2 separate regions of the Homo sapiens genome follow, and region 1 is linked to region 2. The links are contacts of gene promoters, found by promoter capture Hi-C in blood cells and fetal thymus (Javierre and others, 2016). All regions are on one chromosome and are shown on one strand. Each heading gives the region's core, a stretch centred on a gene start or on the middle of the fragment in contact. The rest is flanking DNA. Distances are from core to core; before and after follow the strand shown.

Region 1 (4,104 bases), core at 335-2,834, 140 kb after region 2:
AAAATATTTTGAAACATTTTTACTTTGTTTATTGCCCATTGCAAGAGTGGGATGAAGAGATAAGAAAAAATATAACCCAAGAGTTTGCTTTAATGTGTTTTCTGCACCAAATTCAGAGAATAGCCTCCCCAAGAAATTCATAGATCTATTCCCTTATATCATGAAAGGTGAAAGACTCCAGAGGGGAGTTATCTCTCTGGTCCATCATCTACCTTTACTGCTATCCCAATAAAAGATCAAAGAATCTGGAGAGCATTTAGTTCAATCTTTAAAAGCAAAGAACCTGAAACTAGTTTATCAACTCCATAAGTGAAGAGAACACATTGATCTCATTTCCCATGGTATCCTCATTGTTGGCACAGGACAATATTATTTCTTTTTTTTTTTCTTTTCTAATGATTGTATAAGGCCTAGAAACATTAGCTGGTTTGTCTGAAGTCACCAAACAAATGGTGAGCAAAGCCAGAACTAAAACCCAAGTTGGCTATGACCACCTGAGAAATAGACCACTGAAGCACTGAGAAACTGGGAATCAACTTTGCAACCAAGACACCTTCCAAAATTTTTCTTTTTTTTTTTTTTTCTGGAGACGGAGTTTCGCTCTTGTTGCCCAGGCTGGAGTGCAATGGTGCGATCTCAGCTGACTGCAACCTCCGCCCTCTGGGTTCAGGTGATTCTCCTGCCTCAGCCTCCCGAGTAGCTGGGATTAACAGGTATGCACCACCATGCCCGGCTAATTTTCTATTTTTAGTAGAGACGGGGTTTCTCCATGTTGGTCAGGCTTGTCTCGAACTCCCAACCTCAGGTGATCCACCGCCTCGGCCTCCCAAAGTGCTGGGATTACAGGTGTGAGCCACTGCGCCTGGCCCTCAAGAATTTTTCTAAAACAACAAACCACTTTGTGTCTTTGATTCAAATTTCAATGCAAACAAAAGCATTTTTTTGCTCTTGTTTTGGGGTATGTTAATAATTATTTACCTACTTGCATTTCTTTTAAGTTTATTTGAAGCAACATCCCGTATACCCACACTGAAGAGCCAAATAAAATCAGATTCATTTTTAAATGAAATTTACAATTTAACTGAATTTGAATTCATATACACAGGTGTTTTGTTTTGGTTTTGGTAAGAAGGAAATGGCATAGAACTAAATTAATAGTAGCTTTTTGTCTCCTATATAATCAATAATGCTGGCTGGGGATGATGGCTCACACCTTTGTGATCCTAGCACTTTGGGAGGCCAAGGCGGGATGAATGCTTGAGCCCAGGAGTTCAAGACCAGCCTGGGCAACATAGAAAGAACCCATCTCTACAAAATTCTTTTTAAAAAATCATTGCTGGCTTTATATCAAGAACTTTAAAATGAAAAAATATCTGTGCCCAAGTCCTCCCACTTCCGGAAATTCTGATTTAATTGGTCTAGGCTGGGGGGAAGGATTGATACTAAGTTTTTTTTCTTTATTTTAGATAATAACTTTATTGAGATATAATTCAGGTACTATAAAGTTTGCTGTTTTAAAGTGTAAAATTCAGAGATTTTTTAGTATATTCACAAAGTTATGAATGAATCACCACTATCTGATTCCAGAACATTTTCATTACTCCATAAAGAAATACCATACCCATTTACCATCACCCTGCTTCCTCCCTCCCTTAAATCCCTGGAAACCACTGATCTACTTTGGCCCTATGAATTTGCCTATTCTGGACTTTTTTTATAAGTAGAATCATACGATATGTGGCTTTTTGTGTCTCGTTTCTTTCACTTAGCATAATGTTTTCAAGTTTCATCCATGTTTCAAGTTTCATCCATGTTGTTGCATGCACCAGAACTTCACTCTTCATGGCCAAATAATATTCCATTGTATGGCTATACTACATTTTGTTTTTCTATTCATCACTTTTTGGCTATTATGAATAATGCTACTATGAGCATTTGCATACAGATTTTTGTGTGGACGTATGTTTTCAACTCTCTTAGGTATTTGCCAGCAGTAAAATTGCTGGGTCATATGGTAACTCTATGTTTAACTTTTTGAGGAATCGTCAAACTGTTGCCAAAGCAACTGCACCATTGTACATTCTCACCAGCAGTGAATGAGGGCTCCAATTTATCCTCACCCTTGCCGACACTTGTTATTGTTCATCTTTTCTATTATAGCCATCCTGGTGGACGTGAAGTGATATCTCATCATGGTTTGATTTGCTATTTCTCTAATAACTAATGATGCTAAGCATCTTTTCATGTGCTTATTAGCCATTGGTCTATTCTTTTTAGAGAACTCTCTATTCAGATCATTTGCCCATTTATTAACTGGTTAGGCTATTTATCTTTTTATTATTGAATTATTGGAGTTCTGTATGCATTTTTTATACTTTTTTTTTTTTATTTTTACAGAGTCTCACTCTGTCACCCAGGCTGGAGTGCAGTGGCATGATCTTGGCTCACTGCAGCCTCTGCCACCCAGAATCAAGCAATCCTCCTGCCTCAGCCTCCCGAGTAGCTGGAATTGGAGGTGACCACCACCACCCCCAGCTAATTTTTATATTTTTAGTAGAGATGGGGTTTCTCCATGTGGGCCAGGCTGGTCTCAAACTCCTGACCTCAGATGATCTGCCTGCCTCAGCCTTGATACAAGTTTCTTATCAGATATGTGATTTGTAAATGTTTTCTCTCATTCTGTGGATTGTCTTTCATATTATCTTAAAAGTTCCCCCACTTGATTCTAATATTCAATTGGGTTGAAAGCCACTATGGCCTAGTGGAATTCACCTGACAACATATTTAGAATCACCTGGAAAAATCTAAAAGCCTTTGGTTTTCCAAGGCCAATTAAATCAGAATCTCTAGGTATAGGACCCAGGCATCCATTCATATTTTTTAAGTTTCTCTAGTAATTCTAGATGGCAGTCAAATTTGAGAACCAGTGGCCTAACAGAGGAAAACTAACTTCTTATCCTCAAATCGGCCTCCACAGGTTTTTCCAACCTCATTTCCTCAAACCGAAGCCCTCCTAATTAGACCATTTAAGCCAACATCCCAAGAACAGACTGTGAGCATTCCTACCTCCATGCCTTGTCTACTAACTCCTTGGCACAGAGCACCACTCCCTTCTCAGGTCTCAAAATGATTACTATCTGTATCGCTCACTTGACATTTGAGTTCTACCTTTTAAACAACTCTTGTTTCACATGCTTCAATTTGCTTAGCTTTGGATTCATGTGCATTTCCCTTAGGCCCCTGGTTTCCAAGTCTCTTGACAGAAAGGACCACATGTTATGCTTCTTTACATAACACAGTATGACTAATAGACTCTCATAAAATAATTGTGGAGTGAAAGATGGTGATTCGGCTGTATTGTTGTTATCAGCAGCTAGGTTTGACTACCATCTCATTAAATCCTTTTTGGAAACCTGTGTCAACAACTTTAACTTCACCTATTATTTGTTCCACAAATATTTTGCAAAAGCACTGAAAAATAAACATGCAAAGAATCAAAAAGTTCGACCTGTCTTAATACAAACATCCAATTTGTTTTTTTGTTTTTGATTTATTTTGTTTGTTTCCTTTTTTTACTTAGAAGGAGTCATTAGGTCAGTTCTAATTGGAAGAGCAACCAACTCCAGCAAGCAATGCCTGCATCTCTCCTCCTTTTCAGAGAGTGAGTGCAGGTTAGGCATTTGTATTCTGCTTGCTCACCGCCCTGGGAATTGTGTTTCTATTGCTAATTATTTGGATTCTGTTTTAATGCACATTCAAATTCTTCCTGATCTGCCTTTGTGAGCTGATTTAAAGAAAAAGATGGGAATGAGAATAGGACTTCTTTGTGGAGACAAAAAAAGGGAGTGTGGGTGGGCTGGAGAGAAACCCCAGATGGCTCCCCAGTTTGACTCCCTCTCCCAGCACACACAGTGAGGTGGAGAGAGGGAAGGGAGAGAGAGGAAGGAAGAAAAGCTGTGGCATCTAGAGTCCAGTGGTTTGCTGAATATGTCCTGTCTAACTCAGGGTGTGACATGTTCCTAAGATGCACATGGGAGAGAAGAATTGATTTCCCAAAAATGAATGCCACTCAATTCCCGTCCTACGGCAGCTCATGATCTGATG
Region 2 (4,043 bases), core at 549-3,048:
ATGATCCAATTCCAATCTATCACTCTGGTCTGAATTTCTAGGACACACTTTCCTGCTTATAAATCACCCTATATTAGAGACACTAGTCCCTTCCACCAAGCCACTTGCACGGGACATCTGTCCTCAGAAGAGAAAACAGTTTGGCAGCAGCCATTGTCATGTCTATTCCAGCAGCTCTAGCTAGCTAGACTACAGCTTCCTTCCCTAACCCTCACCTCTGCCTATCAGAGATGCCCTCTGAGCATCCTTAGCACTGTGATAACTCCATTGCAGTAGTTCATTACTTTCTGCTCTGTATTAAAGTTATTTGTGAGCTAATCATATCTCCTCACTCTTTTACTTGTGGTTCATGAACTCCTGTGAGCAGTGATTATAGCCCACCCAAGTGAGCACTCAATAATCTTTATTGTATTGACTCTAAGCTTAAGAAATCCTAAATGTCCTGCCCTCTCCCCAAGCAAGCTCACACTCATCACCACTAAATGCGGTCACACTCAACTTTCCAGTATTGGGAGGGTCCTGTTACTGGTTGAGATAAATTTACTTTAGGAAATTTAAATACTTCTAAGAGTGTTTATTTAATCTTTACATATTTAAAACATGTAAAAATAAGAAAACATATATGAATATTTCTTCTCCAGTAAAAATTAAATCATCAAATATCTTTTGAGTACCTACTTCATACAAACTACATGGTTTCTTAACCAAGAAGGTCTAGAGAGAGATAAGGTTGAGATTCAATGGATATACTCATCATTTTAAGCCGTGTAACAAACCTGGTGTCAGTCTCTGAAGAGCTGAAAACTGAGGATCTGCATCTGAAACCCACACGTAGGTCAGGCAACAATTAAGTATTGTATGCCAAACAGACTGGTGGCTTTCTTTCTTTCCTTTTCCTTGTCTTTTTTTTTTGGCAATTTCAAACTTTTATTTTTAAATAATTGGCTAATTAGCTAGTAGAATTGATTAAGAGAACCTTAAAACCTTGAATTAAGTAAAGAAGGCATTCTTCCCACAATTTCCCTACATTTTAAACAAGCTGGCTAATTCATTTATAAAGTATATGAATCCGAGGACCTTAAAACCTTGAATTGTATAGCAAAAAAACTCTTCCCAGGATTTGCTTAAGTCAATTTTTTTTAAAGGAACTTGTGAGCTCATCCTGAAACCCAGCTCAAATGTATTCAGGACTATGGCTATCCTTTCCCTCTTAAATCACTTCCAGTCTCATAGAAGGGTCTGAAATTGCCTGTGTCTCTCTACTAAACCAACTCACATGCATTCATGAAGCCCCTACTAAATACCTGGCGCTCTGTTCTGAGCTATCTCTTTGCCTTATTTGCTGCCGCCCAACTGCTCCCTGCTGGCCCTGGAATACAGAGCCAGCCAAGCCAGATTGGAGTTTTACCTTTAACTTCTGGCTTTGCTATAAATCACTGCCTTTGACTGCTGAAACAAATGAAACCCAGGTAGGAGAAACACCTCCTCCATCTTCATGCTCCAAAAGTCTCACTCACCTTTGCAGAAGACAGGGATGAAGAGAAGAAAAAACAGGAGAGTGCAGGGCCAGGTCCTGGTAGCCAGGTTCAGCTGAGCCTTGTGCCGCTGAAATCCAAGGCAAGCCATGGCTTTATGGGAGCGGTGTTCAGGTCTTCAGGAAGTAGAGCAAAACCTTTCAGGATCCTGAAGCTTTGAAATGTGTTTGAACCCACACAGAATCAAGGACTTTATATAGATAGCTTTGATCCCAGATATGTATTACACATGTGCACACACAGAAGGCACTTGAATAGAAAGCCTTTTTGTTTTGGTTTTACGAGAAAGGAAGCCGTGGGTTTAGCTGTTACGTCGAAAAGACAACCTCAAGCACTCAACTGAACAAAACAAGCCAATCCATGGATGGAAAATGTATTCAATTTGAAACTGAAGCTTCATGTTCACTTTGAGGATCTGGATAACTAAGTGGAGACTTGGAGAATTTCCTGGAGTACAAGGGTCCTCCTAAATCCCAATTTTATTCAATCTTCTGGGCATCCTTAACCATCCAGTCCAATTCATTTCATTGACAACTCCAAAACTACTAGGCTGCTAACTTTCTGAGCCCTTGGGCTAATGGCAGGATTTGTCTAGGCATCATTAATAAAAACTGTATTCTATCTGTGAAGCACCATCCTTCTAATGGTCCCTTGACAGCTTTACAAATAAGTTTATTTCTCCTAAATCCATTTAGCATTTGGTTAAGAGAAAAAAACTAAAATCACAAGAAATAAACTGAAAATAGGCGGAAAAGAAGCTGCCTCTGGTTTTGCAGAAGGAAAGAATTCAGGTGTTCTTAAAAGCCTTAACTCAACAGAGACAAAACAGAGTTGAAGAAGGTCCAAAGAAAAGCCAACCCAAATGATTCAAGAGATTAGAGCCGTCCATAAAAGGATAGACTTTTTTTTCTAATACAAATTTTTCAAGCAGAAAATTCAAAAGTGAAGATTAAATATAACCAGAGTCCTTAAATTTGTGACAGCTGTAGACAGGACCAATGATCTAACAAAAAGAATTTGAAACATTGAGGACCTTCCTTAAATCTGGAGAGTTTTCATACATTTTAATAAAGAAAGAAACATTCATGGGGAACCTGTAATATGCCCGGAATTCTGTGCACTTAGGATTGAATGATGACAAAACAAAAACATAGTTGATACCTTAAGGGGCTTCTAGAAGGCTGACATGCAAACAGACAGTTGTAACAGGGAATATGACATTTGCCTACTCCAGTCCGTCCATGGTTTCCCATTGTCCACACCTCAGCACAGCAGAGGAGACTCTGCAGAATACTCACCAAATGCCTCCCTCTTTGGCCTGTACCCCAGCATTCCCTCCCATTCCCCCTTCCTGCATTTGTCTTTCCTTCCACGTGCCTCTTTCAGGCCTCATCACCTTTACCCATGCTGTTCCTACTGCCTTTTTTCTCCTATTATCTTATTTTATACTCCTTCTCATCCTCCAGGACTTAGCTCAGCTGTCATCTCCTCCAGGAAGCCTCTTCTTTTTTTTTTTAAAATTTTATTATTATTATACTTTAAGTTTTAGGGTACATGTGCACAACATGCAGATTTGTTACATATGTATACATGTGCCATGTTGGTGTGATGCACAGAAGCCTTTTCTGACCTGCCTGTTTTCTATACACTGCTACACATTATAGAAACCTTCAAGCCCCAGCTCAAGCGCCAACAAGCAATAACAACCTAATGGGCACTTCCTAATGCCAGACTGGGCAACAGAGGTTTTTTAAAAAGTGAAAAACAAATGTTCCTGCCCTCAAGAGGAACACACAGCAGTGGCAGGGACAGACAGCTAAACCCATGATCATGATAGAGTGAGATCAATGCTGGAATTGAAGTATTATGTAGAGGAGCAGAAGCCAGTGGTTCAGCCTGTGGAAGTCAGAAAGGGCTTCTCAGAAGACGAAAAGCCTGAACTTATTATTGAGAACAGAGAAAAGGGTGGATATTCAGACAAGAAGAATAACATGGGCTAAAGTTGGAAACGGCATGAAGAGTTCATTATGGTCACAGGACAAAGCTTGTCTGGGGATGAGCAGAAGGTGCAAGCGGATGCTCTTAGCAGCAAGGGCCAATGAAACATAAGGAGCAAACTGGTATGACTGAGTTCACATTTGGGGGAAATTTTAGGGATGGGGAGGATGGGTTCAGGGAGAAATGTAACCAGGAAGACTGGGAAGAAGACTATTGGAATACGCCAGGCACCAGGATTTGGAAAGCTTTCTGAAGGGGGCAAAATAGTAAATATGTTATGATTTGCAAACGGTGGGGTCTCTGTTGCCACTACTCAACTCTGTCATTTTAGAATGAAAGAAGCCATATATTATATGTAAACAAATGGGTGTGTGTGCATTCCAATAAAACTTCATTTACGAAAATAGGTGAAGTCTGGATTTGGCCTGTGGGCCATGGTTTGCCAACCCCTGGTCTAAACTAAGGTAATGACAGCTGTGAAGACGAGGTCCCTATGGGACTAGTCCACAA

What was found. The method cuts DNA at HindIII sites, captures the fragments that hold promoters and counts their contacts. A CHiCAGO score of 5 or more calls a contact.
Region 1: a fragment that was not itself captured here is called in contact with the fragment with the promoter of CTLA4 in region 2 in 1 of 17 cell types (total CD4 T cells); the score reaches 5.3 in total CD4 T cells.

The regions. Positions count from the first base shown.
Region 1 is chr2:203,721,773-203,725,876 of GRCh38, reverse strand. All of the region lies in intron 1 of CD28 (CD28 molecule), which reads right to left. Among named protein-coding and RNA genes, the nearest start is that of CD28, 17 kb to the right of the region's middle. The HindIII fragment of the contact is 8,566 bases long and covers 1-4,104 here.
Region 2 is chr2:203,865,526-203,869,568 of GRCh38, reverse strand. It overlaps CTLA4 (cytotoxic T-lymphocyte associated protein 4), which reads right to left and starts at 1,798. Exons shown (of 4, transcript NM_005214.5): 1 at 1,518-1,798. The coding sequence starts at 1,626. The HindIII fragment of the contact is 240 bases long and covers 1,692-1,931 here.